2 separate regions of the Homo sapiens genome follow, and region 2 is linked to region 1. Evidence: promoter capture Hi-C in human tissues and cell types (Jung and others, 2019). All regions are on one chromosome and are shown on one strand. Each heading gives the region's core, a stretch centred on a gene start or on the middle of the fragment in contact. The rest is flanking DNA. Distances are from core to core; before and after follow the strand shown. Region 1 holds the start of STAP2 (signal transducing adaptor family member 2). Region 2 overlaps UBXN6 (UBX domain protein 6).

What was found. Contacts are between HindIII fragments. The study calls those that stand out against the background at their distance.
Region 2: a contact is called between a fragment that was not itself captured here and the fragment with the promoter of STAP2 in region 1, in 2 of the 25 tissues and cell types used here (dorsolateral prefrontal cortex and lymphoblastoid cells).

What each region holds. Positions count from the first base shown.
Region 1 is chr19:4,336,807-4,340,104 of GRCh38, forward strand. STAP2 (signal transducing adaptor family member 2) reads right to left here and starts at 2,021. Exons shown (of 13, transcript NM_001013841.2): 1 at 1,846-2,021. The coding sequence starts at 1,947. The HindIII fragment of the contact is 19,957 bases long and covers 1-3,298 here.
Region 2 is chr19:4,448,454-4,451,425 of GRCh38, forward strand. All of the region lies in intron 4 of UBXN6 (UBX domain protein 6), which reads right to left. It also overlaps a transcript of CHAF1A not described here. Among named protein-coding and RNA genes, the nearest start is that of MIR4746, 4.0 kb to the left of the region's middle. The HindIII fragment of the contact is 5,827 bases long and covers 1-2,972 here.

The DNA of each region.
Region 1 (3,298 bases), core at 771-3,270:
TATTTTTTAGTAGAGACGAGGTTTCACCATATTGGCCAGGTTGGTCTTGAACTCCTGACCTCAGGTGATCCGCCTGCCTCGGCCTCCCAAAGTGCTGGGATTACAGGCGTGAGCCACAAGCCCGGCCTCCCCCATTATCTTTCTTAACTGCAGTGATCTACTGGCTCTAAAGGGTTTGTTGGTTGGGGAGGATTTGGATGTATGGAGGTAGAAGGAAAGTCTACTCCACTACAGGTAAGGGAACCTCAGGGGCAGAGGCGGGGACATGGGCAGGGAGGAGCTGGGGGTGTTTGTTTTGATCTGTATTAGAAAATGAGGCAGTCATGGTGGCTCACACCTCTAATCCCAGCAGTTTGGGAGGCTGAGACAGGAGGATCACTTAAGGCCAGGAGTTTGAGACCAGCCTGGGCAACATAGCAAGACCCCATCTTTTTTTTTTTTTTGAGACGGAGTCTTGCTCTGTTGCCCAGGCTGGAGTGCAGTGGCACGATCTTGGCTCACTGCAACCTCTGCCTCCCAGGTTCAAGTGATTCTCCTGCCTCAGCCTCCAGAGTAGCTGGGATCACAGGCACGCACCACCACGCCCGGCTAATCTTTGTATTTTTAGTAGAGACGGGGTTTCACCATATTGGCCAGGCTGGTCTCAAACTCCTGACTTCAGGTGATCCACCTGCCTCAGCCTCCCTAAGTGCTGGGATTACAGGTGTGACCCACTGCGCCTGGCCAGCAAGACCCCATCTTCAAAAAAAAAAAAAAAAGGCTGGGTGCGGTGGCTCATGCCTGTAATCCCAGCATTTAGAGAGGCCGAGACAGGTGGATCACCTGAGGTCAAGAGTTCAAGACCAGCCGGGCCAACAAAATGAAACACTGTCTTTACTAAAAATACAAAAATTAGGTGTGGTGGTGCGTACCTGTAATCCCAGCTACTCGGGAGGCTGAGGCACGAGAATCGCTTAATCGTTTGAACCTGGGAGGTGGAGGTTGCAGTGAGCCGAGATGGTGCCACTGCACTGCAGCCTGGGTGACAGAGTGAGACTCAGTCTCAAAAATAAATAAATAAAATAAAAGCCAGAAGAGGCAGTGCATGCCTGTGGTCCCAGCTACTCAGGAGGCTGGGGCGGGAGGTTCACTTGAGCCCAGGAGTTTGAGGCTACAGTGAGCCATGATCGTGCCCCTGCACTCTAGCCTGGGTGACAGAGCAACTCTGTCTCTAACAAAAAGAAAGAAAGAAAATGAATATGCGGCATTGGGAAGGAGAGATAGGGCCTCACGGGGAACGGAGGGGCTGGGACTTTATTCTGAGGGAGACATAAGCACACACACACACACACATGCACGCACTGTCCATGGCAACTATCTGTCCTGTGGAATGTGGCCCCCGCTAGCTCTTACTGTCCTCACATGTCACCTGTCCTGGCCTTCGCCCCAGCAGCTGAGGTTCACGGAGTTTTTCCTGGGCTGGGAGCGGGAGGAAGCTCGGGAGTCAGAGGACTCCCCATTTCCTGGAGGAAGTCCCTGATCTTGTTTGTATTCAAGAGAGTGAACGAGAGACAAAAGCAAAGATTGAGACAAAGAGAGAGGGAGACTGAGACAGACATCGGGAGAGACAGACGGGGCCAGGGAGAGAGAAAGAGAAAAAGAAACCAAATTCAAAGACACACGGAGACAGAGATAGACGCACAGAGAGGCAGATGGCCAGAACCCACCCCAGTCCCCCAGCACGTGTCCTGCCCCATCCAGCACCCACCCCGCCCCCCCTTGGCGAGTGGGGAGACAGGGACTCAGAGAGGTGCCGCAGCTCCCCACGGTGGCCCAGCAGGGCCAGCCCCCGCCTCCCCACCTTACCCGGTCACAGGGCCCCTTCTTCTCTAGAAAGCTCTCATAGTAGTGTGAAGGCAGGACACCCTTAGGCTTGGGGACACGGGGTGGCCTCAGGGCAGAGGCCATGACGGAGCCAGGGTCTTCCGCCTGGCCTCTCCTTCCAGTGGGTGCCCCAGCTGGGCCGGGAAGCTGAGAAACAGGTTTCAGGGGAGTTTCCTGTGTCAGCCCGTCAACTCCCTCCCCTGCCAGGGCTGGGCAGAGGCTGATCCCAGCAGGTCCAGTGATCCTAGGGAAATCCCCGCCTCTCCGGTGTGGAACTGAGAACAGAGAGAATGTATAAGTCTACTTGAATGGGAGAATAATCTTCGCTATATCTGCAAAGACAGAGACATGGTCTGTCTCTTTATTTATTTATTTATCTATTTTTCCTATTTTGAGACAGAGTTTCACTCTGTTGCCCAGGCTGGAGTAAAGTGGTATGATCTTGGCTCACTGCGACCTCTGCCTCCCGGGTTCAAGAGACTGCGCTGCCTCCCGGGTTCAGAGACTGAGTCCAAGCTCAGTCTCCTGACTAGCGTGGATTGCAGGTGACCGCCACCACGCCTGGCTAATTTTTGTATTTGTAGTAGAGACGAGGTTTCCCCATGTTGGCCCAGGCTGGTCTCGAACTCCTGACCCCAAGTTTTCTGCCCGCCTCAGCCTCCCAAAGTGCTGAGATTACAGGCATGAGCCACCACACCTGGCCCTTTCTCTTACTTTGATGGACCCTAATGATTACATTGGGCCCACCTGGATAATCCACGCTACTCTCCCTATTTTAAAGTCAGCTGACTAGCAACTTTAATTTCATCTGCAATTTTTCTTTTTTAGACGGTGTCTCATTCTGTTGTCGATGCTGGAGTGCAGTGGCACGATCATAGTTCACTGCAGCCCTGACCTCCCAATCTCAAGCGGTCCTCCTGCCTCAGCCACCCGAAGAGCTGGGACTATAGGTGGGCACCACCACACCCAGCTAATTTATTTTCCTTTTTTAAGGATGAGTTCTCACTATGTTGCCTAGGCTGGAGTACAGTGGGGCGATCATGACTCACTGTAGCCTCGACCTTACAGGCTCAAGTGATCCTCCAGCCTCAGCCTCCAGAGTAGGTGGTACTACAGTTGCATGCCACCACACCTGGCTAATTTTTTTTTTTCTTTTTTTTGAGACAGACTCTCGCTCTGTAGCCCAGGCTGGAGTGCAGTGGCGTGATCTCGGCTCACTGCAAGCTCCGCCTCCCAGGTTCATGCCATTCGCCTGGCTCAGCCTCCCAAGTAGCTGGGATTACAGGTGCCTGCCACCACGCCCAGCTAATTTTTACACTTACTAGAGACAGGTTCTTGCTATGTTGCCCAGGCTGGTCTTTTTTTTTTTTTTTTTTTGAGACAGAGTCTTACTCTGTCACCCAGGCTGGAGTGCAGTGGAGCGATCTCGGCTTAC
Region 2 (2,972 bases), core at 125-2,624, 110 kb after region 1:
CCCGGGCCGCACGGCCCTCCGCTGCCCAGGTAACAGGGGCAGGAAAAGGAAGGCAGAACAGCGGCTTGGAGCGGCCCCAGCTGTGCGCTCATCACAGAAAGGAAAAGAGAGACCCTCCAAGACCGCAGCCCTGCCCACGCCCCAGGGCAGAGGCGACGCAGCCAAGACCCAGCAGAACTCAAGTCTCCCCTTCCGCCTTCTCAAGGCTAGATCCATGGGACTTGGAAGCCAGTGTGACGCGACAGAACTGTGCCTCACACTCTGGCTTTAGAACTCGACCTCAGTGCTGAGATCCATCAAGGCCACCGCCACTTACAGAACCTCCCGCCACCATGGACGCCCCATCCCTCCTGCTCTCGCAGCCCCATGATGGACGTTCTGGAACCACTCCCGGGCCTCATGTTTACAAAGAGACCGAGAGGCCCATCGTCCAGGGTCACAGGGATGGCAGGTGGCAGAGAGGACACAAATGAGTCTGCAACCCTCAATGTCTGAAACTCAATAGCTGGAAGACGGATACCCCCAGCCCCTGCCCCTCCCCGAGGTCCCACCTATCCACCTATGTTACCGGGGGAGGGGAGAAGTCATAGCTGGAACTCTGGGGGTTTCCCAGAACCAGCCCTGCTGACTGCGAACAGCGTCCCAGCATGGAGAGGCTGAGAACAGTACGTACCCTAAGACCTGGAAAAGATTGGGGCACAAATCCACGCTCGGCACAGCCATCACACACGGCCACACCCAGAGAGCCACCCATGGCCTGGGAAGCAGGGCTGCCACCCGCACCTCCCTGGGCTGCCCAGACGAGGGCGGGTGAACAGAAGGGCAGCCCAGGGCCATGTGTCAGGATTCGGGCCACCTGCCCAGGCAGCCCAGAGCTCCACCCACCACCCCCCACCCTCAACTGCACAGCAGGGTCCCTCAGCAGCCCCCTGCGTCACACGGACCAATGACCTACACACTGAGCCGGGGCTCATGCCAACTGAAAATTGGGACCCGGCCCAGTCTGCCGGTTTAGTTGCTGAGATGATGTGGGGAGCGGGACAGAGCACGTGGATGCAGAGAGGCAGAGCTGCCAGATGGGCATGTCCCCAAGACAACAGCTTCCTTGGGATCAGAGCGCCCGGGACAGCACACCAGCCAAGGGAAGCGTGTCAGCTCCAAAAGCGGGCCTCGGGCGTTTTGGGCGACTGGCTGCCAGGCTTAGGTCAGGAGCTGGGTACATGCACAGACAAGGGACGAAGGAACAGCAGCCAGGAAGGGGTCCAAATCCATACAGGAATGTACTTTGTGAGAAAGGTGGGATTTCACAGCTGTAAGCAAAAGACAGGTGCTCTCGACAGGTGGGGCTGAGAAGAAAGCTGAGCCAAGATCTAAAAAAAAAATTACATCAGCTCCATCCCACCATGTTACATAATAACATGCTCCAGCTGGATCAAAGCTTCAACCATGGAAACAAGCAAGCAGTCAAGGAGAAGCCAGAAGAAAAGCTCTGGAGGCCGGGCACGGTGGCTCATGCCTGGAATCCCAGCACTTTGGGAGGCCGAGGCGGTCGGATCACGAGATTAGGAGAGCGAGACCATCCCGGCCAACATGGTGAAACCTCATCTCTAAAATACAAAAGTTAGCCCGGGTGTGGTGGCGTGCACCTGTAGTCCCAGCTACTTGGGAGGCTGAGGCAGGTGAATTGCTTGAACCCGGGAAGCAGAGGTTGCAGTGAGCTGAGATTGCACCACTGCACTCCAGCCTGGTGACAGCAAGACTCTGTCTCAAAAAAAAAAAAAAAAAAAGCACTGGAGAGGCCACAAAAGAATTCTCTCAGCATGGAAATGGGGAAGGCATTTCTAAGAATGACCCCAAACCCAAAAGCCATGAACTAAAACTGACACATTTAATTATACAGAGATCAAAAAATCCTACACAGCAAAGTGACCATAAGCAGAGCCAACATAGAAGCAACTAGAGGGAAACATGTGCAACTCATATCATAGGCAAAAGCCTAAATTGCCTAATATGTAAAGAGTGCTGCCGGGCACGGTGGCTCCCGCCTGTAATCCCAGCACTTTGGGAGGCCGAGGCGGGCGGATCACGAGGTCAGGAGATCGAGACCATCCTGGCTAACATGGTGAAACCCCGTCTCTACTAAAAATACAAAGAATCAGCTGGGCGTGGTGGCGGTTCGCCTGTGGTCCCAGCTACTCGGGAGGCTGAGGCAGGAGAATGGTGTGAACCTCGTAGGCGGAGCTTGCAGTGAGCAGAGATGGCGCCACTGCACTCCAGCCTGGGCGACAGAGCGAGACTCTGTCTCAAAAAAAAAAAAAAAAAAAAAAAAAAAAGAGTGCCTACAAATCACTAATAAAAAGACAAACTATCTACTAAATAATGTAGAAAGGACGCATTCTCATATGAAACATGGCCAATCCAAAATAAGGAAAGTGCAAATTAACTCTATCCTGAGATGTTATTTTCACCTACCAACAGGCGTAAAGATCAAAGTTTGGTGATTTACAGTATGGTGAGAGGATGGGGACACGGGTGCTTTTGCACACACTGCTGGAGTGGGTGTGAGTCTGGAGAGTCTATGGAACTATTACTATTTTGTTTTGTTTTGTTTTTAAGATGAAGTTTCGCTCTTGTCACCCAGTGTCCACGCTGGAGCTCAATGGCGTGATCTGGGCTCACTGCAACCTCCACCTCCCAGGTTCAAGCGATTCTCCTGCCTCAGTCTCCTGAGTAGCTGGGATTACAGGCGCCTGTCACCACGCCTGGCTAATTTTTGTATATTTAGTAGATAGGGGGTTTCACTATGTTGACCAGGCTGGTCTTGGAACTTCTGACCTCAGGTGATCCACCTGCCTCAGCCTCCCAAAGCACTGGAATTACAGGCAAGAGCCACCGCGCCCAGCCACTTACTATTTTCTGAGAAAGGGTCTCACTTGTCACCCAGGCTGGTGTGCAGTGGCATGATTACAGCT